Linked DNA regions of Homo sapiens: all the other regions are linked to region 2. Evidence: promoter capture Hi-C in human tissues and cell types (Jung and others, 2019). All regions are on one chromosome and are shown on one strand. Each heading gives the region's core, a stretch centred on a gene start or on the middle of the fragment in contact. The rest is flanking DNA. Distances are from core to core; before and after follow the strand shown.

The links. The method cuts DNA at HindIII sites, captures the fragments that hold promoters and counts their contacts. A contact is called where the count stands out against the background at its distance.
Region 1: a fragment that was not itself captured here is called in contact with the fragment with the promoter of SHISA6 in region 2 in 2 of the 25 tissues and cell types used here (dorsolateral prefrontal cortex and mesenchymal stem cells).
Region 3: a fragment that was not itself captured here is called in contact with the fragment with the promoter of SHISA6 in region 2 in 4 of the 25 tissues and cell types used here (H1 embryonic stem cells, IMR-90 fibroblasts, adrenal gland and 1 more).

Annotation. Positions count from the first base shown.
Region 1 is chr17:11,428,098-11,433,014 of GRCh38, reverse strand. All of the region lies in intron 3 of SHISA6 (shisa family member 6), which reads right to left. Among named protein-coding and RNA genes, the nearest start is that of DNAH9, 170 kb to the left of the region's middle. The HindIII fragment of the contact is 7,046 bases long and covers 1-4,917 here.
Region 2 is chr17:11,238,827-11,243,639 of GRCh38, reverse strand. It overlaps SHISA6 (shisa family member 6), which reads right to left and starts at 2,427. Exons shown (of 6, transcript NM_207386.4): 1 at 1,580-2,427. The coding sequence starts at 2,217. The HindIII fragment of the contact is 17,378 bases long and covers 1-4,813 here.
Region 3 is chr17:11,037,549-11,042,361 of GRCh38, reverse strand. No RefSeq gene overlaps it. Among named protein-coding and RNA genes, the nearest start is that of SHISA6, 200 kb to the left of the region's middle. The HindIII fragment of the contact is 4,187 bases long and covers 270-4,456 here.

The sequences.
Region 1 (4,917 bases), core at 385-2,884, 190 kb before region 2:
GTTTTTTGTGTATTCACAGAGTTGTGCAACTGTTACCACAATCAAATTTAGAACATTTTCATCACCCACAAAGAAACTCTGTACCCATCAGCAGTCACTCTCCATTTCCTCCTGCTCTCCAGCCCCAGGCAACCAATAATCTACTTTCTGTTTCTATAGATTTGCCTATTCTGGATATTTCATATGAATGGAATCATACAATACGTGGGTTTTTTTTTTTAATACAACACTGGCTTCTTTCACTTTGCATAATGTGTTCAAGCTTTGTGTCTGTTGTAGCATGTGTTGGCACTTCATTCTTTTTATGGGTAGACATATGTTATTGTATGAATGTAGTATATTTTATTTGTCCATTAATCAGTAGATGGATTGACACAGATAAAGTGGTTTCTCCCCTTTGTTTTTATGAGTTATTCTATGTCCTCCCAATAAATTCCTTCTCTATTTAAGTTAGGCAGGGTCAGTTACCATTGCTTGAAGCTAAATAACTGTAACAGATCAAATTTTCTCTATAACTGCCCATATAGAACATATATTTCAGATGCAGTGGCCCTAGGGTTTAGGTGGCACGAAGCCCTGTGCCTCATTCAACTTCAGACTTTCTTTATAGGACTTTCAATGAAGTAGGCTGAGTGTAAACATCATGGCAGCAAAGCAGAACTTACAGATAATTGAGCGTTTTGACTGTTGATTCAACTGTCCCATTCTCACTGACTCAGAGGAGTCCACCCTACTGAGAGTTGCAAGAGAAAAGCTCATGGCCAACAGCAGAACCCATCCTATGCAGAAGCATGAAGTCACAGAAATCCATTTTTATTTTTAATCCTTGTGGCTTCCTCTCAATAAACCATTCTTCCACCACCATCTCAATGCTTTTATCCTTTCTTCTCTGATCTCTCAACTTCCATTTTCATGGAAGAACCCAATATTGGTTTTATAAACCTTCAGGGTGAGTTTGAATCTTTTTGTTCCCTCTTACAAGCAAATTTGCTTTTAGGATTCTAGTGTACCTGAAGAGCACTCTGCTAATGGCAAGGCATTTGGCCTCAGTTTGTTACATCTATATAATGGGAGTGTGGGGGTGGTTGGACAGGCCAGTGATGTTTCAACTTTTCTTAGCAACAGAACCAATTCTTCAAGTGCTATCATAGGTGGAAGCCAAAACACAGGTGAGCCCAAGGAAGAGCTACTCTGTTTTTGTTTTTGTTTTGTTTTTGTTGTGTTTTTAACTTAGAATACCTAAGTCTACCTTTCAAGGGTACCCCATGCCCGGGTGTGTTTGTAGACTGAATAACTTAGGTTTAAGGAAACCTGCTGTTGGAGAAACAGGGAACGGATAGCTCTTGGACAAGATCAATCGCTACAGTGGGGTTTTCTGAAACATGGGTACCAATTCACATGCTGGAAGTTTGAAGAAGGAATGGATCTGAAAAATATCTTGGACTTAAGAGATTAAAGAAACAAAATTAGCAGCTGGCAGTGTCCACAATATCATTTCCTCTAGAAGGATGCTTCCTCCTTGGACCATGGGAAAAGCTAGATTCGGTATGCAGTTGAAAATATTACATCTTTTACTCAGTTGGTATACCTTCATCTTTGAGCAAAGTCTAAGGCAGCCACACAAACCTGTGTGGTGGTGGGTGTGGGTAAGAGGGACAGAGCCATAAAGGGCAGCTCTTCCTGCTCCACACTCCCCTCTCTGCTGTTTCCTGTGTGGAGGGTGCAGCTGTCTACCAAGGGGACTGTATCCACCTAGGAATTCTGGACAGTCAGCAGCAGCGAGGAAGTACAATCCTCAGTGGCATGGAGGAGAGTGGGGAGACATGAACAACCAGAAGAACAAGCTGCTGGGCTGATGACTCAGGGGGGACATGAGAAGAGAATCCCGTCTTTCCGACGGAAGAAGATGTGGGAAACTCATGCCAGGTGGCATCATAATCTATGCTTCAGTCCCTCCCCAGATTATCCCAAACCTTGGCACCCCAGCCCTGTGTCAACCAGTCCCCAGCCCAGTGAGGGGAGACTAACTTAGCAAATGCCCATTCCAGCCACAAAGGCTCCTCCGTGACAAGCTGCTCTGATGTGAGGATGCTGCTTCCGTTAAGCCTCTTTCAAAAGCCTCGTGCTGTGCTATGTGTGTCAGAACAGGCTTGGGAAGGGATAACACTTCTCCTGCTCTCTTTGTGTTCTTTGCTGTTCCAAAGTAAGAAGCATTCAGAATGAATGAGGCAATGGGGTTCACACCCTACCTCTGAGTAATGCTGTAGGTGCCTCTGGTTCTTATTATGCCCAGGTGCATCCAGAAATAGAAGTCGGTTGGTAGGCAGACACCATGGAGCCCAGGTCAGCCAAGGTAAAGGTGAGCCCTCATGCTGCCATAAGACATAAATAGGGCTCTCTTGAGGCAGCCTCTACACTCCCTTACTCCCTTCTCCTTCGTCTTCAGTGATACATCAGTCAGGATAGGGTGGATTATGCTGGAGTAACAAACACCTCCAAACCCCCCATGACTCCAAACAACAAAAGTTGATTTCTTGTTCGTGCAACATGTTCATTGTGGATTTAGCAGAAGGCAGGATGGGAGCATCTGTTGATCATAGTCCCTCAGAGACTCAAACTTTGCTGGTGCCATGCCAGGGGCCTCTTAAGGGTCTTGCGGTAAAACACTTGATCCTGGAAGTAAGACTTCAATTCTACTCACAACACATGGGCCACAACCAGTCTCGTGGCCTCGTCCAATCACAAAAGGGCCAGAAACTGCAGTTCTCCTATGGACTCAAGAGTGGGGAGAACCAGAAACGTTCAACAAATGGCCCTAATGACTAAAATCGATGGAAAGAATGTAGTTTTAGGGTCAGAAAAACTCTGGCTTGTAATCTTAACTCTTCTTAGCTGTGTGACACTTAGCAAATTATTGAAGTCTGTGATCCTCAGTTTCCTCATCTCAAAAGTGAGGAGATAATACCTTCGTTGGGGCATCTACTAGTATTTACCACAGAAAATGGGTCATTGACAAATGTTAGTTCCCTTTCTTCCTTTTCCAATTCAAATACCTGATTGTAGGTAACTATCTTGATGGCCATGATGTAATAATCACTTTCAACCTGAAGGCTAAATGCAGATAAAGTTTAAAGTTTATTGTTTTTTTTTTTTTCAATTCCTATGAGGGATATTTGATTGACTGATTGATTGATTGATTGGATTTATTTATTTATTTATTTTTGAGACGGAGTTTCACTCTTGTCACCCAGGCTGGAGTGCAATGGCACAATCTCAGCTCACTGCAACCTCTGCCTCCCAGGTTCAAGCGATTCTCCTTCCTCAGCCTCCTGAGTAGGTGGGATTATAGGCATGCGCCACCATGCCTGGCTAATTTTTTTTTTTTTTTTTTTTTAAGTAGAGATGGGGTTTCTCCATTGTTGGTCAGGCTGGTCTTGAACTCCCAACCTCAGGAGATCCACCCGCCTTGGCCTCCCGAAGTGCTGGGACTACAGGTGAGAGCCAAGGCGCCTGGCCGGATATTTGAATTTTAATGGGTAAAAAGTTCAATTGGACAGATGGACTTTGAACACTATGGGATGAAACTTTCTGAACTGGCTCCTATGGTTCCCTCCCCCAACATTAACACCTGTGTGAAATGCCCTCCCACTGAATGTACCTTGTGACTTGCAAAAGTGATGGGATGGCACTTCTGAGATTAGGTAATAAAAGACCGTGACTTCCATCTTTTTTGTATTCTCTCTACCTGGCCCTCTCTCTTGACCACTCTGACGATGCAGCTGCCATGTTGGAGGGGCCCATGTGGCAAGGAACTGAGGGCAGTGTCCAGATAACAACTGGCAAGGAACTGAGATCCTCAGTCCAACAGCCCACAAGGAACTGGATCCTGCCAGCAAACACTGAGTGGATTTGAAAGTGGATCCCTTGGCCGGGCACGGTGGCTCACACCTGTAATCCTAGCACTTTGGGAGGCCGAGGCAGGCGGATCACGGGGTCAGGAGATCCAGATGAGACCATCCTGGCTAACATGGTGAAACACCGTTTCTACTAAAAATACAAAAAATTAACCGGGCGTGGTAGTGGGTGCCTGTAGTCCCAGCTACTTGGGAGGCTGAGGCAGGAGAATGGCATGAACCCGGCAGGCGGAGCTTGCAGTAAGCAGAGATCGTGCCACTGCACTCCAGCCTGGGCGACAGAGCAAAACTCTGTCTCAAAAAAAAAAAAAAAAAAAAAAAGAAAGTGGATCCTGCCCCAGCTGAGCCTTCAGAAGACTGTAGCCCCAGCAACTGTGTGATTGCAGCCCTGTGGGAAACCATGATCCAAAGGCACACAGCTAATCCATATCCAGATTCCTGACCCAGAGAAGCTGTGAAATCATAAATGTGTGTTGCTTTAAGCCACCAAGTTTTGAAATAATTTGTTATGCTGCAATAGATAACTAATACAAACACTACTGAATGCCAAGCATTCTGCTTAGCGCCGTAGCCACAGATGTGTAGAACATATCCCTGCCTTAAAGAGACAACCTTGCTATCACCACCCAGTCCTCATGCTCAGCCTCCCTCCTTCAAACAAGGACAGACCTTGCATTAAATCTGGTGTGGCCATGCTCAGAGTGGGCCTTTTCAGGACGTACGTGTTCCTCCTTTGACTGCAAATTTGCTCATGCCGAACTCTGCCTTCGCCGTTATAAAAGACTGAGCACATCCACATTTCTCATCTCCATTTCCAGTTCTTTGATCAGAGACAATTTGGTGTGGTGCTTAAAATCACAGATTCTGTCATCAAGCTTGGTCCCATCACTAATTAACTGCGTGTCTCTGGGAAAGTTAACTCACCTCTCTGTGTTCAGCGTTGCTGTGTGTAAAAGGGGATAAAATAGAACTTGAGATGTGAGAGGGTAAAATGGGCATAGTC
Region 2 (4,813 bases), core at 1,178-3,677:
GAAAATTCTTTGCCAGACAAGATGCAAAAGAAACTGTCTCTTGCCTTTATTTTGCTCACCGTCCCACTTGTCTTCTGCATTTGAGAGCCAAGACTGACCACAGGCTGTTTCTCACACAAGAGGATACTTACTGCACTATCTGAGACATGAGGTGCAAGTGGAAGACAGGGTGGAGGCACCTCAGGGTGACAGAGCCTTATAAAAGGGTCTCCTTTTGGAATCACTCCAATTCCAGCACGCGAGTTTGAGGTACCCACCCTTTGTGGATTTGACTCAATAAAACCTTCCAGGGAGTATCATTTCTCTCAACACCCACAGTATCAAGCAGAAAAAAAAAATCAGCTCTTTTAACATGCCTAGAAATTTCTATCTGCCTTTCTCTCTCTTCAGCAAGGCAGGGGTGATTAATGTGCACAGCAGCGAGGAAGGCGGTTTTCAGGTGGTAAGAATAACAAGCAGGACGCAGAGAAGAGCTCAAGGTGAATGGGTCAGTGTGGGGGCCTGCAGGACTGACTGACAAGCAGTGGTCTGGGGGGTGCTCATGGTGACTAGGGCAGTGCCCACACCATGCAACAGAAATGGAGGCATCTCCCGGGGCAGGGTTTGTTCCCTGAGAGGACTCTTGCACCATGTCCAGCCATCCATCAACATGAGGGGACAGGAAGCCGAGCTAACTCTGCATCCTCTGGGTGTGTCATTCCTAGAGTTCTAAGGGGAGGCTGGGTTTCTGTCATCCCCTTGGCTTTGACTTCCCCAAGGGCTCACTGGGGGGCAAGATGGTGCGTCGGGGCAGCATTCAGCGTGCAACCAGGGACTGCCATAGTTTGAGCTCTTGGCGTAAGTTTTGGTAGGAGGCAGCTCCCACTGTCTTTCGAACGTAAGCAGTGAAAGATGCCCCACCAGGTTTAACACAGGCGAGTACTGTTAACTCAGAGTTCTGCCTACAGGGTTTCAAAGAACGAGTCCTCTAGTCTCAGCAGGAAAGATAAACATCCCACTCCGCAGGATGCAATGAGGAGACACCATCTGTGCTTGGTCAACATGGAATGGAGAAATCTTTATCCCTACTTCCGGCAGGAGGCATCCTTTCTATAAAACCCCAATTCCTAATGTACGAGAACATCTCAGTTGACCCTAAGCCACTTGGTACCGCTTTCAGTAAGGTTCCAACATTGGTCAGTTTCCTATATTGAAGATGACACTCTGATTTGACTCAAAAAACTAAATGCCATTAAGAACCTACACCAAAGTGCCCTCATGCCAGGAAAGCAGAACCCTGGATCCTCATCCACGATTACAGAATTTGTAACATTCTTACACTTGGAACTTCATGCACTCAACCAATTCTTACTCTGCCTTGTAAATCCCCCTACCACCAAAGCATGCATTCCCGGTTCTGAAGAAATGGAGGAGGGGGCACAAGAAGACCCTGATTTATTGCATGCAAAAGGAGCGATGGTGGAAATGACTAGAGGGCCTGGGGAGGTGTGATGATGCCGAGAGTGAAGAGGACAGGGGAAGCAAGCTGAGAGGGTGAGGCCGCGGGGAGACCGGGGCGCGCGGCACGCGGCGCTCTCACCTGTGGATGTTCATCTCCCGTGGAGGGCGGTGGGCCTTGTCGTAGGAGACCTTGGCGAAGACGCCGGCCACGATGACGAAGGCGATCACCCCGCAGGTGATGTAGACGGTGAAGTTGGTCTTGTCCTTCTCCGGGTCGTACTTGTTCTCGGGCCCCGGCGACACCACCTTGGTGCTGGGCGTCTGTACCCACACCGGGCTCTGGTAGTTGGTGCACTGGCGCTGGTCCAGCTTCTCGTGGCGCTTCTTGCAGCAGAAGCGGTAGTAGCAGGTACCGCAGCAGTACAGGTAGCCGCTCTCGCTGTTGTTACACTCGAACTCCTTGTCGTACTGGCCGCTCACGTCGTAGTAGCCCCAGCACGTCTCGTAGGTGACGGCCGCGCTGGCCGCCGCCGCCACAGCCGCCGCGGGCTGCCCCCGCCGGCTTCCCGCCTCCGGGATTCCGGGCGCCCGGGCGGTGCCGTTCAGCTCGCGGCCGCCCCGTGCCAGGGCGCCCCCGGCCCTCCGGCCCCCGACGGCAGCGCCGCCTGCACTCAGGGTCCGGTTGGCGGCGCGGCCGCGGGCTCCGTGGACGCTGGGCAGCAGGTCCAGGGACTCCAGCGAGAGCAGCAGCAGCAGCAGGAGGCGCCGCAGCGCCATGGCGGGGCCGGGCGGGAGGGCGCGGGGAGGCTTCCGCGGCAGGCCGCTCCCCCGGCGGGCCGGGCTCGGAGGACCCGCCGCGCGGGCCGGGCTGGAGGCGCTGAGCGGTCAGCGGCTCCGGGGCGATGGCGCCATCGAGGCGCGGGCGGCAGTGGCGGCGGCGGCGCGCGGTGCGCACGGACCGGCCCGGCGCGGGCTGCTCGGGCTCTCAGGCTGCGCGCCGGCTCCGCGCTCCCCCTGCGGGCTCGGCGCGCCTCCTGGGCAGCCCCATCCCCCGCCGGCGGTGACTGCGGCCCCGCGCGCGGCTCGGCTCAGGCAGGACCCGAAGCGCGGCTCCGGGCGGCGGCGGCGGCGGCGGCGGCGTGGTCCCGTCCGGGCGGGTCCTGCGGGACAAGACGGGGAGCCGGTCACGGGGTGGGGCGACTGGCGCTCCGGGAGCAGGAGGAGAACCGCGGGCAGGCGGGCGGGGAGGGTGCGCGCAGCCCTCGAGGAGAGAGACTCGGAGCCGGGAGGGGCGTAGAGCCCGCTCCCAAGACGGGGTCCCGCGGCCCTGCGCGCCTGGAACCGAGAGCGCACGGGCCGCCCCTCCAGGCGCAGCTCGGCCGCCCGGGTCCCCCAGCCGCCCGGCCCCGCAGCGCGCTCCCGCCGCAGGCTGGCTCCCTGGGACGGAGCCGGTTGAGGCTGGGGTCCGGCGGCGAGCCGGGAGAGCGCGCGGCGGCTGGACCTCACTCACTCACCATGCCCGGCTGCGACTGCAGAGGCGGCGGCGGCGGCGGCGGCGGCGGCGGCGGGGCGAGGCGGGAACGCAGCTGCCGGAGCGAGCGAGCGGAGAGCCGCCGGCTCGCCGCCTGCACTAGTGCCGGAACGTGTGCGAGAGTGAGCGAGGGAGACACACGCACTCACACACCCGCACACACGGGAGCGCCGCGAGGGGAGGGGGGACAGGGGAGGGGAGGGCAGCCGCTCTCCGCCACCCACGTTTGCACGCCCGGGCGCTCAGGGTGCGGGGCGGGGGGGACTCCTTTTCGCTTCTTCCGGATCGCAGCAGTTGAAGCTCCGCGTCACGAAAGCTCCGGACAGCAGTTATTCGACACGGCGAACCCGGCGGGCGAAGAGGGGGCCGGGAGCAGGGCGGAACGTCCGCTCTGCAGCCGGCCCGCGGCAGGGACTGACCTCCCCTGCCATTGCCTTCTCTAGCCTTCGCGACCAGTCCCCACCCTACCGGAGCCCGGGGCAGCGCGCTGCCTGAGCGGGAGTTGGGGTTTCTGCAAGCCTTTGCCTCTCCCTAGTGGTGATACTCGCAGCCAGGAGAAGAGGTCAAACCCATTGCTACAGGTTCCCAAACTGAGTCCAGGGGTCAAGTGGCTTGTCTGAGGCTGTTGGGCGACCCGTGAGCTGAGCCTACACTCTCTTCCCCTTGGTCACTCTTTCCCCAACCCCGTACCCACTACGCATAAAGGCGCTAGACAGCCCCAGGACTGGATGGCAACTCTTTGCTATACTTTTTTTTTTCCCCGCGGAGCCTCGAGGCCATTAGAAAGCTATCTGAACCTCTGAGACTCAGCTTTGTAACCCCTGTGTTGAAATCTCTGTGCTGCAGCTCCTATGGGAGGTGAGGAGGATGGGGGTGCAGGGCGGGGGTGCTTTCCGGGGTAGTTGCGTGTCTGGGTCTGTGGAAAGGAGGCCTGAGTCTAACTTTCACAGCTACGAGGCCATCCCAAAAGAGAATCATAGTACCATCCTTGGCGTGTGTCCTTGGAGGAGGTAGGGGGAACTGAGAACAAAAAGCGATGGCCAAGGCCAAGATTCTGCCTGCGTGACCAGCGTGCTTTGGTTGAAGGCAGGGAACTGAAGGCAGGGAACAGGCTGTCAGAGCGAGGGCGGTAGAGAATTTTCCCTGAGACTTTCTGTTCAGTCCCACTCATGTGTGACCTAAACAAGGGATCCCTATCCAGGAACAGAAGAGTTCCTCTTTTGGGAACCGTGGAATGGATATATTAGAGCTCGAACTCAGACTCCAAGACACAAGAGGGAGATCCTGATATTGACTAGGGGGTGGGGTGGGGGGCGGTGCACAGACTATCCCCGCAGCTCCCCACTTGCTACTGTCTCCATTCCCTCCCTCTTCCTCTGCACTTCCTCCCGTTCCCTTAACTTCTCAGTTGCCACCTTCTTCTTAAAGATTCTGTCCAACAAACATTTGTTTAGTGCCTACTCCCTGCCAGCAGAATGAATAAGAGAGTCCCTTTCCTCAAGGAGGGGGACCTTGTAGACCATTAGGGAGACAGATAAACAAATGATTTCCACATGGCAAGGTTACGTCTCATGATAAAGGCGGGCAGGGTGCTCTGAGAGCAGAAGACAGGCACCCAGCCTAGGCCTGCAAGGGGACAGATGGGGGTCAAATGTAGCTTTCTCAATGAGGTAGAGCAGAATCTTGAAGAATGGATTACGAGTTAATACAGCAAGCAAGAGGGGAAGGAGGCTCCCAGCAGAGGGAACATCCTTAGCAGAACCAGAAAGACAGGAAGTGGTTAAGGTGTGTGAGCAGGGATGCAAGCAGTTTAGCGTGAACCCTGAGGGAGTCTTCCAAATA
Region 3 (4,813 bases), core at 1,114-3,613, 200 kb after region 2:
ATGTAAAAGAATGGTTAATATCTAATAGGCATGCTTCCTATTGCTTGGGCATAGAGGAAGTAGAGTGGCAGAAAATATCTGAACAGGTCTGTCCCAAAAAGGCAGGTCTTGCCTAGGTCTCTTTATCAAACAGACAGAGGGAGCAAGGGTAAAGAATTGTAACACAGTGACCACTTCCACTAATGTCCATGGAACAAACAGTGTCCTGGGATTCTGACCTATCAGAATAGGGTCTCTTTTCTCTTTGTATGTTGTGGAGGTAGGGTTGGGGAGAAAAGCCACAAAGGGGATTGTCAGAAGTCTAACTGCCTGAGGTGTCCTTTGTGCCTGTTGCACAAATAAAGACTATGGCATTGCAGTAAAGAAAGAGTTGAATAGACATGAGGCCAGCCATGCCTTTTGGGAGATGGAGTTAGTACTCAAATTAATCTCATCCAAGGCTCACAGGTAGGGGTTTTTCAAAGGCGTTTTAGGGGAAAAGGTGGGGCTGAAATGTACCTAGGTAATAGAAGCACCTCTGTAATGGGTGTATAATAGAAGCACCTCTCTAATAGGTGCTTGCTGCTGATTGGTTGGGGCTGAAATAAAATTATAAGGAGCTGAAGCTGACCTCTTGAGCTGAATCACTTCTGAGTGGGTCCACAGGAGTGGGGTTGGCAGGTCCAGGTGGAGCCATGGGTGTCAGACATGCCAAAAAAACGAACAAACAATAAACCCTGAAAGGATGTCTTAAAAGGCCAATCTACAGTAGTGGTGTTATCCACAGGAATGGCTGGCAATTGTTTATGTCTACACCTTAGCAGAATCGCTTCTCTCCTCCTCCTAGCCTGATTAGCTGTACAAAGCCAGCTGAGTTTTGGTGAAGGCCTATTATCATTTAAACTATAAACCAAATGTCTCCCAAAGTTAGCTTAGCCTAAGCCCAAGAATGATTAAGGGAAAGGCAAGATGGAGGGTGGGTTAAATCAGATCTCTTTTACTGCCATGATTTTCTCACTGATACAATTTTTGCAAAGTCAGTTTCAGAAGGAGAAGCACGAAGAAAGGATGGAAATTTCACCTTTTTCACTGAGAAGAGGAGGAAGTTTGGGGACAGAGGCAGAATCATCACCTCACTTGCAGTCCACACTATTTTTTATTTTCTTTTAAGCCAGCGGCTCAACACACAATCCATGGTAAATAGGAATATGGTTGTTCCCACAGGAAGGTAAGCAGTTCCGTCCCCACTTCCTGAGCCTACTCCTGGGGAATCACTACCCCACCTTTGTACCATCTTTGAAACCGTGAGAGGAGCAGTATATCTATGGCCCATGGAAGTCTCTGAAGGAGGTACAAAATATACTTTAATCAAACATTTTCCAAAGCCGTAGAATACAGCACACCAAATACTCACATTCTAGTCTACTTTTGTGATATTGTGATTTATAATAAGATATATATGTATTTTATCTTCTTTCTTTCCTAAAACCCTTGTAACCTCCAGAGTGATAAGAGAGTCTTTTATATGCTAATGAGTAGACTGATGGCTGTCAGCCTCTAGATAGCTTCAGGATGGGGCTATTCATCAGAAGTACCAACCATGGCAGGATTAGAGAGAGGGCTTGAAGTTCCAGCCCAGCCTCCAACCTCCAGAAACGGAGAGGGGCTGAAGCTTGAGTTGAACACCAATGCTCAATTATTTATTCAGTCCTGCCTATCAAGAGAAGCCTTTATGAAAATCCAAAAGGGCGGGGTTCAGAGAGTTTTTGAATAGCTAAGCATGTGGAGGTTCCTAGAAGGTGACCCAGAGAGGGTGTGAACCCTCTGTACCCCTTCCCAGCTGCTTTGCTCTACAAATCCTTTCCATTGGCTGTTCATTTTTATCCTTCATAATATCCATTATGATGAATGGGTAAATGTAAGTAAAGTATTTCCCTGAGTTCTGTGAGCCATTCTAGCAAATCAACCAAACCTGAGAAAGGAGTTATAGGAACCTCTGATTGATAGCCAGTTGGTCATAAGTATATATGACAACCAACTAGTTGCTACTAGCATCTAAAGTTGGAGACAGTTTTGTAGGACTGAGCCCTTAACCTGTGGGAACTGGTATAGATCTACTCCAGGCAGATAAGGTCAGAATTGAGTTGAATGAGAGGTCACCCAGCTGGTGTCTGCTGGAGGATTGCTTGGCGTGTGGGGAAACAGGCCTCCACACATCTGGTGTCAGAAGTGTTATGGTGAGTGAGACAGTGAAAGCAGAAAAAAACACTTTTTTTTTCTTCCTGTCTGTGATAACTTTCCATCTCAAAGTACGGTGCAGCCTATTTGACCAATACAGTATCCCCCAAGATTATAGCCCAAGTAACAAAATAAGGATGTCTAAATTTTTAACAGAAAACCAAAAAGAAACCAAGGTCTAAAAATGAAATCCTCTTTCTCTTCTAGAAATAAATGGTCTCAATTTATTTATAATGTCAGATTCTCTCCTATCCAATTTCTCATTATGCTTTAACCGGCAAAAAGGTCTCACTCTAACTTCTTGGCCATACACTGAGTTTCTTAGTTTCTTTGGTACTTCTAAAGTGGAATTGTTAGAGTAGGCAGATAGCTAGACATGAGCAGGATGGAGAGTCCCTGAGAAAAGTGGGGTCTGGAAAATCTCACATCCCAGAGATCACACAAAACAAGCATACTAGATATAAGCAGAGAAGAGGGGAAATATCTATGCAGAAAAAAATGTCAGTAATCTTTCACTCTGCAGTTAACCTGTCAGAATGTAGCTAGCTATATGCTAATAGGGATGGAAAGAGGGCAAAGGAAAAAAAAATCCCAGGAGATACACAGGTGCAGTATGTACAGGTTTAACCACTATATGACCTTACTGGGGTGGCAGTAATGAGCAACACTCTCATTAGGTAGAATTTATATCCAACACCAGGCCCGTGCATGCATGTGCATCAACTGACAGTAAGGGAGACTCCTACTAACCTGGGAGCAGGAACTAGGTGGGGAAAAGGCAGAGTCTTAGGACAGAAGCAGGAAAACTAGACAAACACAAAGGCAGAGACTGAAAACAGAGGTGGGAACTTAAATAAAAAAATCTGGCATAATAAAAACCACAGTGGAGAACTCTTACTGCTGCTGGCTCACTCTCTCTTTTAAGCAGCCCACTCTGACTCATCTTTCAGAGTATACGGTCTCTTTAAATAAGCACTGCTACTGGTACTTTTCCAGCCACACAAGCTCGCTCTTCTCTTGGAGTGTACTCTTATCTCCTTAATAAACCTTTTGCTTTACGTTACTAAATGTCTCTTGGCTGAATTCTTTCTCCCAAGTTAGACGAGAACTGAGGATTCCCACACTTCCTGGTAATAGAATTAATTCAATCCTAAACTCTCACATGTCCTACTTGCCAAATGCATAAAAGGTCAGCATACAGAACAGGCATTCTTTCTTATGTGCTCTGCTTCCCTTCCTTTTGGTAACTGACTTCCCAGCCCTTGTGTGATGGGGCTGTCAATCCAGGTGGCTTTGCATCTTCTACCACAGAGTTAGGCATATCACGAAGAGGGGTCATTTGCAAACTCATTCCCACAATCCAAACACGTTGATTGGTTTTAGTTTGGACTCAAGACCCAAGCAAGATGAATCAAAGCCCTTTGGGGAGATTTACGTAAATGCATCCTATAAAACATTGCTTTTCTTTAGAAGGCAAAATTTCCAAAGACAACATAAGCTTACATTACATGTAAGCAGTGATGGAGCTACAGGTCTAAGATGAGGACAGAATTCTGTTATCATATGGACAAAGCTTAACTAAAAACAAAGACAAGCAGAGACAAATAGCTGAGTGATGGGGAGAGACAGACAGCAATAAAGACAGAGAATTCTGAAGATATTGTACAAACCCTGCAGACATTCCAACCTGCAGCTTGAGCCACCCTAAGATTCCCCTAGTTCCATGAACCAATCACTTTCCTTATATTGCTTAAACTGGTCGAGGAGGATTTCTACCTCCTTTAACTCAAAGAACCTGAATAGTTGAGTCAATGAGATATGCATGGTTTCTAAGTGCAAGAGACCCCACCACCACCTGCACCCCATACACACACACACACACACACACACACACACACATACATACACACAATGTAGACCATGTATATGCCTGCTGCAGAAATAGCATTTTCTATGTAATAGCAGTGGTGTCACATTGCTAGTCTGGAGCCACAACAGCAACCGTGTTGTCTGGGGTGGGGAGATAGACAGAGAAGGCTGGAAGGAAAGGATGGAGAAAGCTTGGTTTCAGTTTTGCCAGGAATCATCCTGTGGGCTTAAAATTGACTGGCAGAAATCCCCCAGGAAGTTAATTATGCTGTGATATGGTTTGGATCTGTGTCTCCAGCAAGTCTTATGTTGAATTGCAATTCCCAGTGTTGGGGGTGGGGCCTGGTGGGAGGTGATTGAAGCATGGGGGTGGATTTCTCATAAATGGTTTAGCACTCTCCCCGCTTGGTTCTGTCCTCACAATAGCCAGTGAGTTCTTCTAAGATTTGGTTGTTTAAAAGTGTGTAGCAACTACACCCTCTAGCTCTTGCTGCTGCTCCCACCATGTGAGATGCCTCACACCCCTTTGCCTTCTGCCACAACTGAAAGCTTCCTGAGGCGCCCCCAGAAGCCAAGCAGAGGCTGCCATGCTTCCTGTACAGACTGCAGAACAATGAGCCAATGAAACCTCTTTTCTCATTAGTTGCCCACTCTCAGGTATTTCTTTAGAGCAATGCAGGAACAGACGAATACACGCTGCCATCAACTTTTTATGAGATTTCTAGAA